Regions from separate parts of the Homo sapiens genome. Here region 2 is linked to region 1. The links are contacts of gene promoters, found by promoter capture Hi-C in blood cells and fetal thymus (Javierre and others, 2016). All regions are on one chromosome and are shown on one strand. The core of a region is centred on a gene start or on the middle of the fragment in contact, and the rest is flanking DNA. Distances in the headings are between cores, read along the strand shown.

The links. The method cuts DNA at HindIII sites, captures the fragments that hold promoters and counts their contacts. A CHiCAGO score of 5 or more calls a contact.
Region 2: a fragment that was not itself captured here is called in contact with the fragment with the promoter of COL4A1 in region 1 in 1 of 17 cell types (monocytes); the score reaches 5.5 in monocytes.

Annotation. Positions count from the first base shown.
Region 1 is chr13:110,302,918-110,308,427 of GRCh38, forward strand. It overlaps COL4A1 (collagen type IV alpha 1 chain), which reads right to left and starts at 4,240. Exons shown (of 52, transcript NM_001845.6): 1 at 4,027-4,240. The coding sequence starts at 4,110. COL4A2 (collagen type IV alpha 2 chain) reads left to right here and starts at 4,367. Exons shown (of 48, transcript NM_001846.4): 1 at 4,367-4,611; 2 at 4,943-5,030; 3 at 5,152-5,206. The coding sequence starts at 4,987. RefSeq lists enhancers at 3,996-4,829, 4,830-5,510. The HindIII fragment of the contact is 7,261 bases long and covers 1-5,353 here.
Region 2 is chr13:109,037,217-109,042,726 of GRCh38, forward strand. All of the region lies in intron 23 of MYO16 (myosin XVI), which reads left to right. Among named protein-coding and RNA genes, the nearest start is that of MYO16-AS2, 62 kb to the right of the region's middle. The HindIII fragment of the contact is 1,531 bases long and covers 1,450-2,980 here.

The sequences.
Region 1 (5,510 bases), core at 2,990-5,489:
TTAATGAGGTTAATCCTTCTTCAATTTGGGGAACAATTATTATAACAAATATCATAGAATTCATCAAAACCACTGTTGTCATTTAGCCACTTCTTGATGTTCTTCCACTGTCTACAAAGGTTTGTCTTAGATCATCACTGGTGGGTTCCATTTGTCTGCAAAATCTTTACCAGCTCTTAACTAAATAACTGAACTTGTTATGACCATCCTTGCCAGTTCTCAGAAATTTGCCAACAGCCTTGTTAATGAATAATGTAGGGTTTTGTGAATTCCCTCATGGCCTGGCCCAAGTAAGGGTAGGTTTTCTGGGTCAGTTCCTAAAGGCACTCCTGACTAGAATCAGTCATCCATGCCGCAACTTTCCAAACATCCCCTGCCTGCCTACCTGCCACCTCCGAGAAAAGGGACAGGACCACATACTGGGGCCTCAGTTGGAGCTGGGAGCTCTTTTTTAACACTGGTCTCCTAAACCCTGCCCTTCCAATTCTTTCCACCCCTCTGAGAGCAAAGTTCAGCCACCAAGATTGTTAATCACAGAAACAATGACATTTTGGTATCTCAAAGGAGCAAACTTGAAGGTCATCTTTCAGTGCAAAGACCCTTAGACTTGAGAGCAGACAGGCAGAATGACCATGTCTTCTGTGTATAGTACACCATCACAGTGCACATGGAAATGACATGCTGGTGTATAGTTCCTATTTCTCCCTCATATTTCAGAGGCGGAAGCCCCTCCCAGAAGTTTCCTCTGAGTTCCCCAAAGCTGGATTCAGTGTTCCTATAGCCCTTCGATTCCCCTGATTGTGACATTTACCAGCCTGACTTGGATTCGTCTGTTTCTTTTCCAATATTTCTCACCTGACCTTCCTGAGGACAGAGAGTGGGGGTGAGTCCCTGCCGCATGGCCAGCACCTGGCAAGGTCATGGCAGGAAGGAGGTGTTCCCGATGTGTGTGTGGAATGAAGGAAGGCACAAACGGGTCCGTGTGAGGAAGGGACAGACCTGCCAGGGAAACTGAGGTATAGAGTTTGATGAGTACCCCCAAATCATCTGCTTAAAAGCAGGTATAAAATGTAAGGTCCTCTGGTGCCTAAAGCACACTCATCCTGTGTACACGTGACTATTAATAATATATAGCATTGATAATTCTGTGAATCTAGTCAGAGTACATGAACATTGTGTCTTCTGGTTGGTCTTAAAGTTATGTCCCTTCACCCTAGTCCAATTCCATCTATTAATATAAAGAGCTTGCAGATATAAGGAATAGCTTCACCAATATCACTCCTGAGATCCTGGGCGATGCTGCTCTTGTTGGGACTGATTCAGAAACCAGCCTTCTCTTCTAAACTACATTTCCAGTAGAACATGGTCCATACTTATATGGGAATGAAATCTCACTTAGTTTGAACTCTAGGTCATTCAGTCCCAGAGGTGGTGACTAATGGTCAGGAGATGACAGTATTGCTGGACAAGCATCACCACACTGAGGGGAAAGTTCACGTTTCTAATCCTGAGAAATAATCTGTTAAGAAGCATCACACAGAACCAGCTAGAGGGGAGTGTGAAAGCTGCTGCAGGAAGGGTTCATTCCGCCCAGTGCAACTGAGTGACTAAGAGTAGAGGGTGCTCACAATCAGAACACTGCTGGCACGTGTTTGTCTGGAGCCTGCAAGCTATTCCTCCTTTCTTGCTGAAGAAAAGTGGAGGAAGGGAGGAGCGGGGAGTAGAGTGGTAGGTTCAGCGTGGGATAAAATCAATGGTTTAGAAAATCCACCCATGAGTACGTAAACAATATGACCATAGCAGATACAGCAAATACAAAATTAAACAGCCTTTCATGAAGAAAAAACAATAAGGGCAATTCATGCCTGGCACACAGCAGGTGATGTCTGGATGTACAAATGCAGGTGAAGTGTGATTCAGACAGTGCAAAGGAGAGGTAAGCCAACAGTCACTTCCACTGGCTTCTGAATGAGGATCTGATCAAATCCACAGCATCTTATCATTCAAAATGTGCTTTTAAATTATGTTTTGCTTGGATCAGTATTGAAGCTATTTCAGTGTTATGGTACATCTAACAGCTGATTTTGGAAGGAGGTAAGCCAAAATGTTATTGATGGCATGAAAAGTGAGACAAATTTTAAAATTAGGCAGATTCAGTTTTTAAGTGATTTTCTTGTATACCCATACATCATCTGCACATTAAGCACTTTTCTCTAATTAAGCCAGGGAAAATACAGAGTAATGATAATATCTGTGAGGTCAGCTGTGATCAGAAGTGCCCACAGGCTGCATCTCTTAAAAACAGTCCATGGCACCTCAAGGGACACTGCAAAGACAGTGGCCGGGAATGTAATTGAGCTTTAGGAAATGATTAAAGGGAAGTAAAATCATCTCCAACTCAACATTAATGCGTTTGATTTCCCGGGTGAGAACAGGATTTGCGTAACTGAGTGGTTCTTTCTTTCTACAGTCCTGGATGTTTGGAAAGCCAGCTCTTACAGTTAGCTTTCTTTGCTTTGCTAACATTATCCATCAGAAAATCGAAATGCAAACAGCTCCTATTTCCCAATGAAGAACTTTCTCTGATTTACCTTACCATCATCAGGCTTCACCATCTCACCTTGGAAGCGTTCAATCTTTTGGTCAATATTTCTAGACCAAAATAAAGTGCTCTCAAGCCTGTTCTTTGGAAAGTATTTTGTCATCATTACCAAAGAGTGTTTAAATAACTGGCTATGAAGTTTGGGGAGACTGGGCTGGGAGGTACAATCTGAAGTTAATTGCTGATGTAATCATTAGTCCTTTCAATACCCAGTGGAGAAGCTGCCTCCAGGGAGATAAGCTCTCAATTAGGAGACGTGTGTGTATATCACCAGTTCTCTCTGGCATGTAACAGTTAACAATTTCTATACAGTTAAGTGGATTTAGTGAGTATCATTCTTCCAGGAGAGAAGTAAAATTTTTTTTTAAAGAGGAAAACAAAGAACAAGATTAAGAACAGTAAAAGAATAAGTATGGAAAATCTGGTAAGTAGCAAAAATCATTTTTAAGCATTTGAGGGAGAAACTGCAAAATCTGTTCAGAAGCCACACCTTCCGGCCTGTGGGACTGCATGGCTGTGACACTGAGCAACAGCTGAAGTCTTTATTCTCTCGGAGGGGAAGGAAAAAAGGAAACAACAGTCAGTCCAGGCTTGTCCACGGCTGGAAGCCTCGACTCCTGCAAACCTCCTGCAAACCGATCTCCCAGATCCTTTCTGGGCAAGCACATAACCAAAGGAAATGAAAACTAGAAAAACAATTTGTGCATGGAACAATGACATGGAGTTTCACTTTGGTTTCATGCTCAAATATGAATGTGGTTATAATTTTTTAAAATATATATTAATAGAAGGCAACGAGTTGAGGATGGTGGCTTCTTCAAGCCGGGCGTCCAGAAGAGCCCCACTTCTGCCTTGGAGCGCGCCTTAGGCAGCAGTCGTGGGAAAGCTCAGATACAGCTGTTTCCAGGCAAAGGGCCCAGAGCTTTTCAGCCTCAGCCACCAGGGTCTCCAGACAAGGAGAAATACGCCCAAAGCTGCTCCCAGGGGCTAGGAGCTCGGAGCTCCCAGTGTGGGTCTCTGAGCAGCGCGGGGTGGGCGCTCCCGGCCCTCCAGCCCCCAACTCCCTCGCGCACCCGGGACGGGTGAAGGCGCCCAGCTGCCGAGCATACCCGCGACGCGGGTTCAAATCCCGCCGGCTCCCAGGCACCCTCACCCCGCCACAGCGCGGGCTGTTTCTCCTCCCTTCCCCGGAGGAATTCCTTAACTCTCCAGTACCCATACCATAACAAAGGAGGCTCGGTCCACCAATGCGCGATCGTAGCCTACAGGGACCCCCAACGAACCCCGGCCCAGAGAATGCACCTGGCCGTGCCACGCGCGACCCCCGAGGGGCAGGCGGACGGGTCCAGGCGCGGACAAAGGGGCCTCTCGGGGCGCCCAAGCTCGGGGCGGGACGCCGGGAGCGGAGCTGGCCGGGAACTCACCTTCGCAGCGGCCCGGCTGTGCTCCTCGTGGAGCAGAAGGGCGGCGGGCAGCAGCAGCAGCCAGACGCTGAGCCGGGGCCCCATGGTGGCGCGCCCGAGGCGGCGAGGGACGGCTGCCCGGCGTGCGGGGGCCGCGGCGGACAGCTAGCTCTCGGAAGGCCGGACTTCCAGCGCTACGCACCGTCCCGGGTGCGGCGGCTCCAAGCGGAGACCTGAGCGCGGCGGGCCGAGCTCCCCAATTTGTTGGCGCTGCCCCCTCCCCCCCGGCGGTGCGCGGGCGGCGCCTCAAAGGGGAGGACCCTGCGGCGCGGGTAAGAGGCGGCGGGAGCGCGCGGCCCGGGAGTGTGGCTGCAGTGCGCCGGGACACCAGGGCTCCGCGCTCCGCACTCAAGAGGCTCCCGCGTCCCAACCCCTCGCGCCCGCGCGTTCGCGGATCCAGGCCGAGGACCGAAAGGGGCCGCCCGAGCCCCCGGGGCCGGCGCCCAGAGAGCCCAGCAAGGCCGGCCGCCCTGCCGGTGTGCCGCCGGCGGGTGCTTCTGGAAGGGCCAATGCGTTCGGGCAGCAGCCCCTGAAGCCGAGCCCGAGGTGAGAGCGACCCCCGAGCGGCGCCCAGACCCTGGCCCGAGAGCACCGACTTGGAGCGCCTTGTGCAGGCTAGGGCTGCACGCTCTCCTGCTTGGGAGTAGAAAGGGGGAGGGTGGGAGAGCGAAGACCGAGCTCCTCGGCCAAGGAGCACCCACAGGGGCCTAACGGGAGGCTCTCCTTCTTTCCGGGTCGTGGGGGGGACGGCCCTCCGGTCACCCCTGCATGCGGGCCGCGCACCGCGCTGTCCCCGCGTCTCGCGGACCGAGACCGGCGGTGAGGATGGGCTGCCTCCCTCATCCTGCGCTAAACTCGCTTTGTCTGTCGCCTCTAGGCTAAGTGGGACTGACCGGGGCCCAGAGTGGACGAACCGCCAGCATGGGGAGAGACCAGCGCGCGGTGGCCGGCCCTGCCCTACGGCGGTAAGCGACTTTCTGCCTGGTCCCCGTGGGTCACGCGCGCATGGACCCTTCGGTGTAACTCTCGGGGACTGACAAGCCGGGCCCGCACGTTCACGTCTCTCTTCCTCCCTTTCCCATGCAGGTGGCTGCTGCTGGGGACAGTGACCGTGGGGTTCCTCGCCCAGAGCGTCTTGGCGGTAAGTCCTGGCTCCCGCGCTTGGACTTGCGCGCCCGAGAGTGGTTGGGACGTTTGAGTGGCCTTGGAGAAGGCAGCTCGTCCGTGCGCTCCCGAGTGTGTGTGTGCGTGTGGATGTTCGCCAGGCTGCCCACCAAGGTTCTGAGAAAGCTTGCTCTTCCCTCATCATGCTTTCCACCTTTCCTTCCCCTTGGGTTCCCAGCGTCAATCCTGTGTTTTGCAAGCGTCGGCCTTTCACGGGAACTGGGAACTTAAAATGTAGCCTGAGGCACCGTTTTCGTTGCTTTGGGCAAAGCTGCAGCCGT
Region 2 (5,510 bases), core at 965-3,464, 1.3 Mb before region 1:
GTTGTGCAGCTTTTCTTTGTTTCTTCTCTATGCGAAGTTATTGCCCCTTCCTGGAGCTGGAGGCGGCGGCCCTCAGTGAAGTCCAGGTGCTGCGTATAGATGCTGATGAGTTTAATGGGCTCTCCTTTCTAGGGAGACTTCTTTTCTTAGGAAGCATTTCCTTCATAAGTTGTCAATCAGTGAATTTCACCTGAGACAATTATGGGTCTAGAATGAGAAGCTTTTTATTGGGAGGCAGCCTATTTAGCAGCCTCAAGACAGATTACCTAGGTAATGCCATGAGTCCTTCTCAAGTAAGTCATGTATAAAACTCTGGAAAACGGCAAAGAAGAAGGTACAGGTGAGCATTAGAAACATCAATTAGGGATATTCATGAGAAAACTATAGTAAAAACTATGCAAAGGTAGGTAGGAACAAGCCTTTTTATTTATCTCCAAAGCCACCGAGAGACACACAGAGAGAGAGAGAGAAAGAATGGGAGAGATAGGAAGAAAGAGCTAGAGAGAGAGGTCAGCATTACTGCCTATGTGTTGTAGATGAGAAGCCTTGGAAACTCAGTAACTTGCCCTGGTTATCCAGGCCCTGGGGCTTGTTGAAGCTGGACTCCAGAAGGTATGTCACTGAGCAAGGCCAATGCACTTTTGACAACAGCTTGATGCCTCTCAGAGACTTGGGCCTAGAAAGGCAGAGTTGGCCTTGGTTGCTGGAGAAGCTGGAAAGGAGTTTATTGAAAGGAAAAGCAGCAGTGATGGCAAGGGAGGAATCTGTGAGTAGGGTAGAGGAAAGTAGGGAGTACAATGGGGAAAATGGGAAAATGCTGTAAAGCGAAGGATTTAATTAGGCAAAATGTACATATTTCTGTAGACAGTGAGGATTTATCAGGGATCCAACATGATCGATCATCAAGTTAGATATTTTTTTTCCATTTCCCTCTTTTCTTCAGAATTAACTCCCAGGTTGTGATGATTAACTTATGTGTCGGTTTCACTGGGCCATGGGATGCCCAGATGGCTGCTTGAACATCATTTCTGAGGGTGTCTTCGAGGTGTTTTGGGAAGAGATTAGCATTTGATCAGTAGACTGATTAAGCTGTTGCCCTCGCTAGCTTCAAGTGGGTGGGTGGGCACCACCTAATCCCTTGAGGGCCTGAATAGTGCAAAAGAGAGGAAGGTTGAAATCTCTCTGCTTGACTGCTTGAGCTACAATATCAATCTCCTGCCCTTGGTACTCCTGGATTTCGGGCCCTCTGACTTAGACTGGAATCTACACTATTGGCTCTCTGGCTGTCAGGCTTTCGAACTACCTTGTCGACTTTCCTGGGTCTCCAGCTTGCAGATGGCAGATTGTGGGACTTCTCAGCCCCCATAATTATGTGAGCCAATAACTCAGACTATATATATTATACTATACTACTGGTTCTATTCATTTGGAGAACCCTGATGAATACAAAGCTTTTGTATTCATTTAAGACAAAAAGAAAACATTCGGGCTGTCTTAGTCCAGATTATACTTTTTTTTTAGAATCAAATTTGTTATATTTTTTAAATCAAAATTTTAAAGAATCTTTTTAGTTATATTTATTGAAATTACAGTTTTCCTTTTAGTGTGCACAATTTTTCAATGCATAGGTTTATTTAGGATCTTATTACTGTGCTAAGATTCTAAATGGATATTTTTCTCCTAGCTCCCTGCCACTGTGATGATATCAAAGGAGGCTTGGTAGGGGGTTAGGACTTCCAGCACTGTGCAGAGATAATACCCCACTACCCAATTTATGAAGGCTATGTAGGAAGCAGTAAAGAAGTGTTTCAGCCCATTCCACTGCTCATCCCACAGCCAGGGAAGAATGACTGGAGGCTTAGTGGAGAGGTAGAGCCTTTATCTTCACCCAGAAATAATGAGGATTCATTCTTCTTGCATATCAGAGGAGGCTGGGTAGGGACCTAGACATCTACTCTGACAAGGCAGTAGTGAGGCTGTGCCTTCCTTCTCTTGCCAAGTGCTGGAAGGAGCCAGCTAGACAGAAAGTGATGCTGGAAACTTCAACACCCTCCTCTCAACAATTGGTAAAACAATGACATAGGCAATCGGCAAGGGTGCAGGAGAACTGAACAACACCATCACCAATAGGATCTAGTCAATATTTATAAACACATCCACCAGCAAAAGCAGAACTCATATTCTTTTCGAGTACCCATGGGACATGTGTCCAGATGGACTATCTGCTCGGCCGTAAAGCAAAACTAAGCAAACTCAAAAGAATTGAAATTATACAGAGTAGGTTTGCCTACCACAATGGAATCAACCCAGAAATCAATAACGGGAAGAAAACAGCCAAATCTCTGTATACTTGGAAACTTAACAGTGCCCTTCCAAATAATCCATGGATAAAAGGGGAAATCGTGACAGAATTAAAAATAATATGCTGAACCTAATGAAAATGAAAGTACAACATGTCAAACTTGTGTGGCACAGCTAAAATAGTATTGAATGAGAAATGTATATCACTAAATGCGTACGTTAGAAAATAGGGAAAATCTCAAACCAATAATCTAAGCTCCCATCTCAGGAACGTAGGAGCAAAATAAACCACAGTAAGCAAATGGAAACCGATGACAAAAAAGCAGAAATCAATGGAATTAGAAAAAAAGGAGAAAATCAATGAAACAAAGAGCTGGTTCTTTGAAAACACCAATAAAAATTATAAACCTATAATATGAGTGACAAAGAGAAAATAGAAAATACATAAATAGCCAATATCAGTAATAAAACAAGGAAAATCATTATAGGCCCTGTAGACATCAAAAAGATACAAAGGGAATATTACAAACAGCTCTCACACATAAATTCTATGACTTCGATGAATGGATCAATTCCTCAAAAAACACAAGCTACTTCAATTCACCCAATATGAAATAGACAATTTGAATAGCACCATAACTTTTAAGAAATGAATTTGTAATTTAAAGTCTCTCAAAAAAGCTTCCTATTCCAGATTGTTTCACTGGAGAATTCTACCAAATGTTTTAAGGAAAATTAAAGCCAACTTTACACAATCTTTTCTAGAAAATAGAAAAGAATACTCTCTAATTCATTTGATAAAGCAAGTATTATCCTAACACCAAAACCACACAGACAGTAGCATACACACACACACACACACACACACAGAGAGAGAGAGAGAGAGAGAGAGAGAGAGAAAATTAAAAACAAAAAACATCCCTCATGAATATAGGTGAAAAAATATGTTTAATATATTAGCAGATAGAACTTAGCAATATATAAAAAGAACGGTTTTGGTTTTTGTTTTCTTTTTCTGGGGATGCACAGCTGATTCAATATCTCAAAATCTATCAAGGTAATCAATCACATCAACAGGTCAAAGAAGAAAAAAATACATGATTATATCACAGGATGAAGAAAAAGCATTTGATAAAATTTAACATCCAGTCATGATAAAAATCAACTCCCAGACAAATAGGAATGGAAAAGATAACCTGAACTTGATAAAGAGTTTCTACAAAAATCCTACAGCCAATATTATATTTAAGGGTGAAATCTGGATGTTTTACTTCTGTGATCAGAAACAAGACAAGGATGTCTGCTCTCACCACTCTTAACATAGGCTGCTGGAAGTTCTAGCAAGTGTAATAAAGCAAGAAAGGACATAAAAGGCAAACAGATTGGAAAGGAGGAAATAAACCTGTGCTTATTTAATTGCCTTTGTGTAAAATCCCAAGAAATCTACCATAAAAAAAGAAAGGAAAGACTCAAAGAACTAATAAGTGAGTTTAGCAAGGTCACAAGACACAAGATAAACATTCAAAAAATCAATTGTATTTCTGTATACTAGCAATGGGCATTGAAGTGAACCATACAATTACATTTACAATTGCTCATAAAAATGCAATACTTAGGTGTAAATCTAACAAAATATGTAGGGAACTTGTGTGGCGAAAACCACAAAATTCTGATAAAATAAATTAAAGATCTAGATAAAAAGAAAGACATTTCATGTTTATAGATTTGAAGACAATATAGTGTCAATTTAATAGTAATCATCATAGTAATCAGTTCTCCCCAGATTGACATATAGGCTAATGCATTCCTATCCAAATCACAGTAAAATTTTTATAGATATAAAGGTATAGATGATACCATTCTAAAATTTACATTGAAAGGTAAAGAAGATAGAATAGCTAAAACAATGTTTATAAAGAAGAATGAAGTGGGAGGAATTCACCTTCTCCATTTAACGTCCTTAAAGCATGTTACACATAGGTTAATGGAACGGAATAAGGACACAGAAATAGAACCACACAAAGGGACTCAACTGATTTTGGGGAAGTGAAATTGTTTATAAATTGGCAACATGCGGGATCCGTGTGGTGATGTAAATATTCTATATTTTCACTGCATTAATGTCAATATCCTGGTTGTGATAGTTTTGCAGGATGTTACTATTGAAAGAAATTAAGTAAAGAGTACACAAGATTTATCTGTATCATTTCTTACAACTGTATACAAATCTAAACTTATTTCAAAATTAAAACTTTAAAAATATTTAATGGTAATAGAAACAGGATACATGTAGACACAATAAAGGGCATAAATGGACATCATTTATTTTGATTTTCAAATTGCCTTTTTTTTTTTTTTTCCGAGACTAGAGTGTCACTCTGTTGCCCAGGCTGGAGTGCAGTGGTGGCGTGATCTCGGCTCACTGCAATCTCCACCTCCTGGGTTCAAGCGATTCTCCTGCCTCAGCCTCCCGAGTAGCTGGGATTGCAGGCGTATACCACCACACCTGGCTAGTTTTTGTATTTTTAGTAGAGACAGGTTTTGCCATGTTGACCAGGCTGATCTCGAACTCTTGACCTCAAGTGATCCACCCGCCTCGGCCTCCAAAAGTGTTGAGATTACAGGCATGAGCCACTGGGCTGGGCCCTCAAATTGCCTTTGACAAGGCCAATGTGAAACTTCACTGATCAAGGAAAGTATCACGGTTAAAAGACCTAATTTGGAATCGAGTAGTATTTTATCTTTAAATGGAAAAGAAAAGTATTTGTGCATGCTTGTGTGTGCATGTTTATGTTGTGTATTTAAATTACTTGGCTGTGTCCACTAGAAATACCTAGAAACATTGGTTGATCCAGTACTCAATCACACAATGTGCTATTGTGAATCCTTACAGTTCAGATGGTCTCCATGTCATTTCTCTTCACAAAAATTTGCAAGATGTCCCGGAGGGAATACTTGATTCCAAATTTAGCACCAGGAAAAGACAGCAACAACAACAACAACAACAAAACACTGTTTGCAACCATGTGTTAACAATCCACGAATGCCAATTTTATGTAACATGTTATCAATTGTTTGCATTATTATGAAAAAATGTATAAGCTATTTGCATAGTCTCTAATACTTGTGTTCATCTGTCAACTCAAATCCTGTCAGTACTGGTCATCTATATCTTATGAATAGGGTCAAAGGCTTTTAAAGTTGGAGGG